Regions from separate parts of the Homo sapiens genome. Here region 1 is linked to region 2. The links are contacts of gene promoters, found by promoter capture Hi-C in human tissues and cell types (Jung and others, 2019). All regions are on one chromosome and are shown on one strand. Each heading gives the region's core, a stretch centred on a gene start or on the middle of the fragment in contact. The rest is flanking DNA. Distances are from core to core; before and after follow the strand shown.

Region 1 (5,965 bases), core at 1,742-4,241, 54 kb before region 2:
TTGTTCTATCACCCAGGCTGGTGTGCACTGGTATGTTCTCGCTCACTGCAACCACTATCTCTCAGGTTCAAGCGATTCTCCTTCCTCAGCCTCCTGAGTAGCTGGGATTACAGGCACATGTCACCACGCCTGGCTAATTTTTGTATTTTTAATAGAGACTGGGTTTCACCATGTTGGCCATGCTGGTCTTGAACTTCTGGCCTCAAGTGATCTGCCCACCTCAGCCTTCCAAAGTGCTGAGATTACAGTCCTGAGCCACTGCTTTCGGCCTTACAGAATTGTTTTGTTTTGGGGCATTCAGAAGTCTGACATAAAAATTAACTTGAGACTTTTAGGTTCATTCTTTTAATCTTCCATTTTCTTTCCTTCCTTGCTTTAAAAATACCTTGGACTTATTTTCTGCCCTCGATTTTATTTACTTCTTTAGGCATTCAGATACCAAAACCTCGTCCTCTACCTATGCTTGCGAATTGAGTCACAGCTTGTGGTTTACCTTATTTCCCCAAGTCCATGCTCAGTTGATGTGATGATATAGCGCTCCCTCAGCTTTCCCCTCTTTCCCCAGTGCTCATTTATGACCCGTCTGTGTGTTCATTTCCCCTTCCCCATAACTGGCATCATGCTCTGTCCATAGTAGACATTCAGGAAGTGTGAATTTCATAAGGGAATGTTGGTTCCTTTTCTTGCCTTTTCAGGAGTGTCCCCCTAGAACCCGTTTTCTACTTTTTTGGTTTTCTTTGTATCCCTTAAAAGAGTTTTTCTAATCTCAACTTCTAAGACCTTTTTTCTTGTGTATTTTTGCAGTTTGCCTCCAGATTGATATGTCTGACACTTTTAACCTAGTTGAATATTTTACTTGACAACATAGCAGTACCAGTGAGATAGTTCACTTCCTTCTTTCTCAGAATGTCTGATGATAAACTGTGCACATTCCAAAATCATGAATTCTGTCTACCTTCCTCACCTCCCAGTATTTGATTGTGTTAGTCTCCTCTCCATTGTTTGTGTTCTTTGTCTTCTGTGAAATGCCTTGCAGATCATCAGCACATTGTTTCTTTTGACATTAGTGTTCAGTATTCTCCCATACCTGGATTACAGTGGATCCATCTTCCATTCAAAGGATCATGGTCCTTTTCCTTCATCTGCATTTTACTGGCCCAGATAATATATATTTTCCCTCCCTTTCTTCCTCCCCTCCCCTCCCTCGCTTCCTTCCTTCCTTCCTTTTTGAGATGGAGTCTCACTCTGGTCACCCAGGCTGGAGTGCAATGGCATGATCTCGGCTCAGTGCAGCCTCCCCCTCTCAGGTTCAAGGGATTCTCCTGCCTCACCCTCCCAAAGCAGCCGGGATTACAGGTGCACACCACCATGCCTGGCTAATTTTTATATTTTTAGTAGAGATGGGGTTTCACCATATTGGTCAGGCTCGTCTCTAACTCCTGACCTTGTGATCCGCCTGCCTCATCCTCTCAAAGTGCTGGGATTACAGGCCTGAGCCACTGTGCCCAGCCTATTTATTTATTGAGACAGAGTCTCACTCTGTCACTGAGGCTGGAGCGCACTGGCGCAATCTTGGCTCATGATAACCTCTGCCTCCCAGGTTCAAGTGATTCTTGTGCCTCAGCCGCCCGAGTAGCTGGGATTACAGGTGTGCACCATCATGCCCGGCCTATTTTTGTATTTTTAGTAGAGACGGGGATTCAGTCTGTTGGCCAGGAGTTCACTCTGTTGGGCTCCTGGCCTTGTGAGCTGCCTGCCTCAGCTTCCCAAAGTGCTGGGATTACAGGCGTGAGCACTGCACCCAGCCCCCTTCATTTAATTTTAAATTGTGGTTAAAAAAAGAACCTAACATGGCCGGGCGTGGTGGCTCATACCTGTAATCCCAGCACTTTGGGAGGCCGAGGCGGGCAGATCACGAGGTCAGGAGATCAAGACCATCCTGGTGAACACAGTGAAACCCCATCTCTACTAAAAATACAAAAAAATTAGCTGAGTGTGGTGGCGGGCACCTGTAGTCCTAGCTACTTGGGAGGCTGAGGCAGGAGAATGGCATGAACCTGGGGGGCGGACTTGCAGTGAGCAGAGATCGCACCACTGCACTCCAGTCTGGGCGACAGAGCGAGACTCCGTCTCAAAAAAAAAAAAAACCACGTTTGACCTAGCCCAAAGATTCCAGCACATAAGAACTCCAGGGAAATGAGTGGCTCACAATAAACCTAGTAAACCTATAAAGACAACTGGAATTAAAATGTGCTCAGGTCCTTGTAGAAGACAAGAAATCCAAAGGAAATCAAGCAAAGGGGGAAAAAGAAACAGAAAAGATAAAATGAATGTACCAACTCAATACTAGGCCATAAGGCTAAGTCTCCATAAATTTCTTTCTTTTTTTTTTTTTTTGAGACAGAGTCTCACTCTGTTACCCAGGCTGGAGTGCCGTGGCACAATCTCAGCTCATTGCAACCTCTGCCTCCCGGATTCAAGCAATTCTCACGCCTCAGCCTCCCAAGTGGCTGGGATTACAGACAAACGCCACCACATGCAGCTAATTTTTTTATTTTTAGTAGAGACAGGGTTTCAGCATGTTGGCCAGGCTGGTCTCAAACTCCTGGCCTCAAGTGATCTGCCTGCCTCAGCCTCCCCAAGTGCTGGGATCAAAGGTGTGAGCCACTGTGCCCAGCCCCTACATAAATTTCAAACACCACATTCCCTGAATACAACACAAAAAAGTTAGAAATCAAATAATGAAAATATAACTAGCAAAATTCTGTATGTTTGAAAATTTTAAATATTTTCCCAGAAACTATAAAACTACATGTTAATGTGGATAAATCTCAAACAATCTTAACTGAAATAATTAAATCACAGAAGCCTGAATAATGGATTCATTTACATAATTAAAGAACACATTCATAGTGGTAACACTATAATGAAAGATGAGAAAGATTAACACAAAGTTCACCCTAGTGTTTACCTATGGGTAATAAGGGGACTGTGAGGTAGGGTAGAAAGAAGGTACACAAAGGATCTCTACAGCACTATTAATGTTTCACTTCTTGAGCTGGGGCTAGAGATCTGGGTAATCATTTCATTTTTATTTTTTAAACTACATATAAGCTTTGTACACTTTTGGATATTAGAACTTCAATAAAATTATAAAAAAGAGAAACAGGGGAAAAAGTATAATTGTCAAGATGGAGCTAAAAAAATAACATGGGTGAACAAGGTGCCACCCACATGCAAGCTTCCTTCCCATGTCATGTAATGCCTCTCCTCATCTGCTCCATCAATCAATAAAGGCATAATCACTCCTGTGATACCTTTAAGAAAAGAACACACTCTCTCAAAGCTGGGTGCAGTGGTGCACGCCTGTAATCCCAGCCTCCTTTGGGAGGCCGAGGCGGGCAGATCACCTGAGGTCAGGAGTTGGAGACCAGCGAAACCCATCTCTACTAAAAATACAAAAATTAGCTGGGCGTGGTGGTGCTTGTCTGTAATCCCAGCTACTTGGGAGGCTGAGGCATGAGAATCGCTTGAAACCAGGAGGCAGAGGCTGCAGTGAGCCGAGACTGTGCCACTGCACTCCAGCCTGGGTGACAGAAAGAGACTCTGTCTCAAAAAAAAAAAAGGAACATGCTCTCTCATTCAAGGTTACCCTTCTATCACTCCAAGGATTCACTCCATAATCTTATCTTTCTTGATATGTTACATTCACTAAAACGTTCACATCAAATCAAGTTTGTAGACACTTGTCCTTACCACCTTACAAAAAGTGAGATGGTATCAACAGAGGTGAGACACTGCTTTACCTGCATGTCACTTTTGGCAGCTTTCACAGCATTGAAAAGATCATTGGCTGGTGGCTCTGACTGTTTCCGGCTATGACGATGTACCACTCGGGACCCTTTCTCTGGATGTTTGCCATCTAATATGTATAAAAAGATCAGAAATATGAAAAAAAGGTAACAATGACATTAACACTTGGTCTCATCATTATCACACAAGTAGGCTTATGCTGCCACTTCCATGGCAGAGTCTGAGTTAGTCCTGAAATAATTGATTTTTATATTATGAAGTTTATTAACTTTTTTCCCTTAAAAAAAAAAAGTCCTTGAGTCCCCTTCCTGTATCCCTATATCCTAACGTCCTTTTCTCTTCTTTTCTCTTCAAAATTTCTCTTCTTCCTATTTCCGTCCCTTAACACTTTGTAAATCTTGTCCTTTTATGAACCATATCACCTGAACCTCTTTTAGGTTTTTTTTTTTTTTTTTTTTTGAGACGGAGTGTCGCTCTATCACCCAGGCTGGAGTTCAGTGGCGTGATCTCGGCTCACTGCCAGCTCTGCCCCCTGGGTTCATGCTATTGTCCTGCCTCAGCCTCCCAAGTAGCTGGGCTGCTTCCCCCACAAGATTCAAAAACAAAAGAAAACTGGCTGACTCACCGGTGTTGCTTTTGGTGGTCGTTTTGCTGCTTTCTTCTTCACACTGTGATTCAAGCTGTCTTCAAAGTCATTGCCTTCATCAGCTAATAAAGAGTCAGTATTCCTGTGAGAAAGTACCGTTCTCTTTAAATATAACCACCCTAATTCCCTCCATATAAAAGGCTAATGAATTAGTTTCTCTGTCTCTCACTGCATCCCATCTCCATGAGAAAAACATATTCAGAATTTAAGAAAAAATGAGCTTATTGTTAGTAGGAAGTTGGGACAAAGTCTTTTTTTTTTTTTTGAGACAGAGTTTCACTCCTGTCACCCAGGCTGGAGTGCAATGGTGTGATCACGGCTCACTGCAACCTCCACCTCCCAGGTTCAAGTGATTCTCCTGCCTCAGTCTCCCGAGTAGCTGGGATTACAGGTGTTTCACCATGTTGGCCAGGCTGGTCTCAAACTCCTGACCTCAGGTGATCCACCTGCCTTGGCCTCCCAAAGTGTTGGGATTACAGGCGTAAGCCACCACACCCGGCCAGGACAAAGTCTTAAAGGAAAACTTTCACATGAAAGCAGTGGAGACGAAGAATGAGGAAATGAGGCACGGGAAGGACAACCCTTCCTAGTATTCTCTCCGAAGAAGAGAATCAAATGCTACTCACTTAGCGGGTAGAGAGATCACTGCTCTTTGTAGAGAAAAACAATCATGGCCCAGGAAGTCATCCATCACTCATCCATAAATGGGAGAGTAATATGGACCTAGAGTTAAATTTCACCCATGAAACATCAACCACATGTCATATCAATTCAAGTGTGTAACATTGATATAATCGGGTACACCACAGCAGCACTGACAGAAACAGAAATGATTCAGAGAAAGCCAATTAAAACAGCCAGGGGATAAAGCAGATCTGTATGACATTAGCTTTTTTCCTTCTGGAAAGATAAAAAACCAAGATATATTATTATAACCTACACAAAATAACCTCATATGTGGTAATAAATAAGGATACACAGACCTGTTTACAAAATCCCCAAGTAGAAGAACTAGGGGACACCAGATAAAAAGTTTATACAATTTACCAGGCAACAAGTAAAGAACTCTTTACTCACCCATCTGCCACCTCCCAGCCCCCACCAGGGGTTGTACATGCTGAACACAGAAATGTGTTTAAGAGAGGTTTAGACACGATGGATGATGGATTAAAAACAGGATGTGCTTGAACCCGGAAGGCGGAGGTTGCAGTGAGCCAAGATCACACCACTGCACTCCAGCCTGGGCGACAGGGCAAGATTCCATCTCATACAAACAAACAAACAAACAAAAAACAGGATGTACTACTATTTTGATGTCTACAACATCTAGGACCACCAAAAAAAAAACACCTGGAGCTGGAGGGAGGGTGTCACTGTGCTGAACGAGTACAGCACTTCTGGTGTATTCACACAGTCCCACGAATATTATCATCAATGTGGGAAAACGAGAGGGGGAAGGCTGCCACGGACACAGGAAGTGGCCGCACAATGCAACATCTACTTACC
Region 2 (5,798 bases), core at 1,495-3,994:
AAGGGAGGGAGGGAAAGAAAAGCAAGCAAGCAAGCTATTCTGTGTTTGGTTAGGAAACCAACTCTGCAAAGCACTGGCAATTACAACTTGCATTTTGCTTCTGTCTGGGCATGCTGGATAAATATGCCTGTGGGGTGGCGGCATCAGTAACGGGCACAGGAAGCTTTCTCAAGGATGAGTGAAGTCGCTGCAAGAGTGAGAATTCAACAAGCAAAGGACTCCTTTGCTGAAAGCACATTCATCTATGATGCAAACTACTGCGTTTACAAAGTGTTTTCTTCCTGTTTTGTGTGTGTGTGTGTGTGTGTGTGTTTTGAGACAGAGTCTTGCTCTCTGGCCCAGGCTGGAGTGCAATGGTGTGATCTTGGCTCACTGCAACCTCCGCCTCCCAGGTTCAAGCGATTCTTCTGCCTCAGCCTCCCCAGTAGCTGGGACTACAGGCGTGCGCTACCATGCCTGGCTAATTTTTGTATTTTTAGTAGATATGGGGTTTTACCAGTTGACCTGGCTGGTCTTGAACTCCAGGCCTCAGGTGATCAGCCTCCCAAAGTGCTGGGATTACAGGCATGAGCCACCGAGATTCATTTTACCAAGAACTCCACGTTGGAAAGCCATAACATGATTGCTTTTTGAGGACTTTACCCCTGAAATTCAAATGTTCCCTCACCCATAGCCATTGATGGGGGTGGCAGGAGGAGGGCCAGTAAGGAACCCTGGGATTTGCTTATGTCCATGTTAGGGCCTAACTTGCCTTTTAGGTCAGTAACCCGGAGGGGGAAACCTGGTTTATTAGACTAAGTGTCCTCCTGGTTTCATTCTGGCTGTCAGCAGTAGCCTGTAAAAGACAACTCGAAGTGTAGATGGATTTAACCTGGCGTCCGTAACATCTACTCTTCCAATTGTCATAAAATGTGGGCTGGCTGACATGAGTGGAATTTTTCCTTCGTTTGGATAAATGTGTCACGGTCCAATGCTGTTGTGACAGATGGAAAAATCCTATGTAGGGCACGCAGCAGCCTACCCGGCATGGAGGAAGGACTCCAAGGGACCGTCTGGCACCGCCGGGCTGATAGGAACCCATCTTGTCTGTCTGTGAATTATTCATGTGCTGCACTTCCTGAAAAGAATGCTCCTGTTTGACTGCCTCGCTCGTAAAACCGCAGAGAATTCACCGTTAAAGGTGAGAGGCTCCCTGCAGTAGGGAGTGGAAGGGGCCAGGGCACAGCAGAAACTCTTTGCTGCTGTCTGCGAACAGCATGAGAAGGACAGCACGCTGCACTGAAGTTGGGACCCCAGGGGTCTCGCTGGGTCTGTGAGTGGCAGTGCACTCTGGGTGGCAACCCCCAATTAGCTCAGTGCAAGCTCTTCATGGTGCCATCCAACACCCTGGGCAGGGGCCAAGCAAGGTGGCCCATGCCTCTATGCCCAGCACTTTGGGAGGCTGAGGTGGGAGGATCACTTGAGCCCAGGAGTTCGAGACCAGCAGAGGCAACATAGCAAGACCCATCTCAATTTTTTTAAAAAATTTAAAAATTAGCTGGACATTGTGGCACATGCCTGTAATCCCAGTGCTTTGAGAGGCTAAGAGAGGATTGCTTGAGGCCAGGAGTTTAAGACCAGTCTGGGCAATACAGGAAGACTCTATCTCTAAAAAAAGAATTTTTTTTTTTTTTTTTGGCTGGGCACAGTGGCTCACATGTATCATCCCAGCACTTTGGGAGGCCGAGGCAGGCAGGATCACCTGAGGTCAGGAGTTCAAGACCAGTCCGGCCAACATGGTGAAACCCCATCTCTACTAAACATACAAAAAAGTAGCCAGGCTAGTGGCGTGCACCTGTAGCTCGGAGGCTGAGACAGGAGAATCGTTTCAACCCCGGGGTCGGGGGTTGCAGTGAGCCAAGATGGCACCACTGCACTCCAGCCTGGGTGACAGGGCAAAACTCCCTCTCAAAAAACAAACAAAAACAAATTTTTTAAAAACTACCACGGTGTGGTGGCTCCTGCCTACATGTAGCCTCAGCACTTTGGGTGACTGAGGGCAGAGGATCACTCGAGCTCAGGAATTCGAGGCTGCATTGAACCGTGATCGCACCACTGCAGTCCAGCCTGGGCGACAGAGCCAGACCCTGTCTCAAAAAAATAAAAAAAAAAATCCTGTGAAAACTCGGGCGTGGCCAGACGGATTCTCCCCTCCCCACCTTCCTTTCCCCTCCACTGCCCACCTGCACCCGCCCGCCCTGTCCCCACTCCCCGCCCCTCTACGCAGCCAGCGTCCAATGCTGGGCACCCCCCGAGGCTCACCCTGCCAAGCCTGGGGCTCCCCTTTTGCGCCCGGACCCAGGGGCAGGGAAAGCCCAGCTCGTGGTCTGTGGGTAGCCGGACCCCCGATGGGGCGGTGGGGGGCCTCGCCTTGACTCCCAGAGCTGGGGCCGGGGACAGGAGCTGGGGCAGGAGGGATGCGCGCGGGTCGGGGTCTTCCCACCTCCCCTGCTCCTCTCCCTCGCGCGATCCCGGGGTGGTTCCAGGTGAGGCGGGGACCCCCACCCCCCCACTCTCCGAGGAGGCGCCGCCAGCCCCGCCCCTCCCGGCCCGGCGGGTGACGTGGCCGCGGCTCTCCCGCGGGTGGGTCACGTGTTGGCGGCGCCTGGTTGCCTTGGCAGCGGCTGCGGCGGCCGCGGGGGCGGGGTGGAGGCGGGGCCGGGGGACCCCGCGCGACCGGCGGAAGGAGGGAGGGGGCCGCGCTCGGCGCCCCGGCCGGGCCACTGGGCCACAGGCCACGCGGCCACGCAGTCCGAGCGGGAGCCGAGCCGGGCGGGGCGAGGGCAGCTCCGGTGAGTGTGGCGGCGCGGGGGCCTGGCGCGGGGAGCGGGGTCCCTGCGGCTGGGGGGGCCGGAATTGGACCGGGGACGCTCGGCGGGGAAGGGGACGACTGTAGGCTGCCCGGGCGCGGTCACTACCCATCCGGGGTTGGTGACCTCCACCCCGCGGGATCCCTGGCGGGGTGCGGCGCCCAGAGGATCAGGGTCGGCGGCGCAGCCGGTTCCGGACACCGGGGCGTCCCTGGGGGAGGGACAGGGATGCAGCCTAGCGCCCCTGGGAGGCCCCCTCCCAGTGCGCCTGCTGGAGAGAGACACTCGCCATTGCCGGTGCCCCAGATGCTTAGAGGAAGTCAAACTCCAAGACCGCCCTCTGGAAATGTGTCCAGTAGGCCAGCCAGGAAGAAAAGCTCATCTCTAGAGAGGGGATCGCGTTATTCTACAAGACCTGTTTTCTCGGACTGCTCATTAAAGCAAAAAAAAAAAAAAAAAAAAAAAAGCAACCCCACAAGGTTCAGTCCCGGAGCATCCTCTAGGGTCTGTGCCACCTGACAGAAGTACAGGGCTCCATCCTGCCCCACCCCACCCCCTGCCTGGGATCCAGTGTGAGGCCCAGACTCTGTCCCTCCCCCTGGGCCACCGGGCCTGGCACACACAGTTGGCATTGGGAACATAAAGGATGGATTTGAACCCCCTCCTGGGCTGCTCCTTCGAGACCTGGAGACCTGTCTCAAGACCCAGCTCCAGGCAGACAGACATCGTTTCCTCCACAATCCCACCCACTCTGGGGACATCTGCAGGGCCTCACCGATGGGGCATGGGAGGCCTGGCGGCTCCCAGGAAGCCACCCTCAGCCCTCACTGCCCTGAGCTCTTCACCTCCACTCTCAGACCTGAGCCCAGCCCACCCTTACTGATGGGGCATCCCTCTTGTTCACCCTTCCTTCCTTTGGAGGCCACCAGGCTCTCCCTTGCGTCCCACTCCTGCCAGTCGGCCAGCCATTTCCCTGGGTTGAACTGTGGTCCCAAACCAGAATGATCTAGCAGTGCCCAGACCGTTCCACTCACCAATTTCTTCCATTCTCCTGTGGCTGGACGCCCAGTCATGCTGCCCAGACCCTCTGGCTCATTCCACAGCCCCAGGCTCCAAGTGTCTTCCACCCACATCTCCCTGCCCCCTCCACCCCCCAGGTGGCAGCCAGTCTTCCCTCCATATCTCCTGGACAAGGAGAGCCACCCCACATGTACACCTGGAGTGGCCTTCCCGTCTCTCGGAATCCTTCCATGCAGGCAGCATCTTGTCTTTGAGGAAAGGTCCCTCTTTTTTAAAATTCTTTTTAGAGGCCAGGCGCAGTGGTTCATGCCTATAATCTCAGCACTTTGGGAGGCCAAGGTGGGCGGATCACTTGAGCTCAGGAGTTCTAGACCAGCCTGGCCAACATAGCAAAACCCTGTCTCTACCAAAAATACCAAAAATTAGCCAGGTATGGTGGCACACACATGTAGTCCCAGCTACTCGGGTGGTTGAGGCGGGAGGATCGCTTGAGCCTGGGAGGTAGAATTTGCAGGGAGCTGAGATTGTGCCACTGCACTCCAGCCTTGGTAACACAGCAGGACCCCATGTCAAAAAAAATTATTTTTAGAGACAGCGTCTTACTCTGTTGCCTAGGCTGGTCTCCAGCTCCTGGCCGCAGGTGATCCTCCCACCTTGGCCTCACAAAACACTGGGATTACAGGCATGAGGCACTTTGGCATGCAAAGGGCCGCTCTGTCCCCTCCCCGGTGTTACCTGCAAGCACCTTTTCCTGGCCTTGGTGTGAGGCAGCCAGTCCTCTGCTCCCTGCCCTCCATTGAAGCCTTTAGCTCAGTGGATGAGGATTGCCCCCCCCTCTTTTTTTTTTTTTTTTTTGAGATGGAGTCTCGCTCTGTTGCCCAGGCTGGAGTGCAGTGGTGTGCTCTTGGCTCACTGCAACCTCTGCCACCACACCCAGCTATTTTTTTTTTTTTAAGACAGAGTCTCACTGTGTCACCCAGGCTGGAGTGCCGCGGTAGGATCTCAGCTCACTGCAACCTCCGCCTCCTGGGATCAGGCAATTCTCCTGCCTCAGCCTCCTGAGTAGCTGGGATTACAGGCGCCCACCACCATGCCCAGTTACTTTTTGTATTTTTAGAAGAGACAGGTTTCCACCATGTTGTCCAGGCTAGTCTCGAACTCCTGACCTCTAGTGATCCGCCCACCTCAGCCTCCCAAAGATGACAGGTGTGAGCTACTGCTCCTGACCCACATCCCCTTACCTTGCTCCCCTACTGGGAGGCCATGAATTCTGGCCTCTTTCATCTTGGATCTTTAAGTACCAAGTGCGCTAAGCACCTGTGTGATGGAGGAGGGAGGACGGAGGGAGCAAAGGTTAGCGTCTCACCCCTCCAGTCTCTGTATACTGCGGTCATCAGACCTGCATGCTCAATTCTGTTAACTATGGGGGTGGGGGGAGAGGAAAAATGCAGTTTCCAAATTACAGCATTTTCTATTATGTGGAGCTAACCTACGGATTGCAGCGTTTCTCTGAATTCTCCCCAAGGGAAGGAACGTCCCAGGGATGGAAGTGCTTGGATGCGGTGCTGCTGGCTGCGGATGTGCGCAAGGAGATGGGATGGAGAGCCTGAGTTGGCATTCGTATAAATGACCTGGTAATTGGCATCCCCTGGCAGAAATAGCACAGAACTGTTCCCAGAGGTCTTGTTGGCCAGGGAAGGCTGTGGCTTTGTAGCCTTGTTGAGAACAAAGGGAAAGGCGACACTGTTTTCCACCTCCAGCACCTTCCTGCGTAATTTCCAAATTGGGGCATTTTCAATTATGGGGGGCTCGACTCTGGCATGGATGGACTAAGTTTGGGGCATTTCCTCAGCTGCTGACCCTGTTAAGCACTCCCCACTCCACCCGTCCACCCCAGCCACGCTCCCTGGGACCTAGAAACACGGATCT

The links. Contacts are between HindIII fragments. The study calls those that stand out against the background at their distance.
Region 1: a contact is called between a fragment that was not itself captured here and the fragment with the promoter of ORAI2 in region 2, in 1 of the 25 tissues and cell types used here (psoas muscle).

What each region holds. Positions count from the first base shown.
Region 1 is chr7:102,376,659-102,382,623 of GRCh38, forward strand. All of the region lies in intron 4 of LOC100630923 (LOC100289561-PRKRIP1 readthrough), which reads left to right. It also overlaps the pseudogene LOC100289561. Among named protein-coding and RNA genes, the nearest start is that of PRKRIP1, 17 kb to the right of the region's middle. The HindIII fragment of the contact is 5,110 bases long and covers 437-5,546 here.
Region 2 is chr7:102,430,831-102,436,628 of GRCh38, forward strand. It overlaps ORAI2 (ORAI calcium release-activated calcium modulator 2), which reads left to right and starts at 2,745. Exons shown (of 4, transcript NM_001126340.3): 1 at 2,745-2,831; 2 at 5,395-5,503. RefSeq lists silencers at 512-806, 2,205-2,344, 2,375-3,154. The HindIII fragment of the contact is 14,608 bases long and covers 1-5,798 here.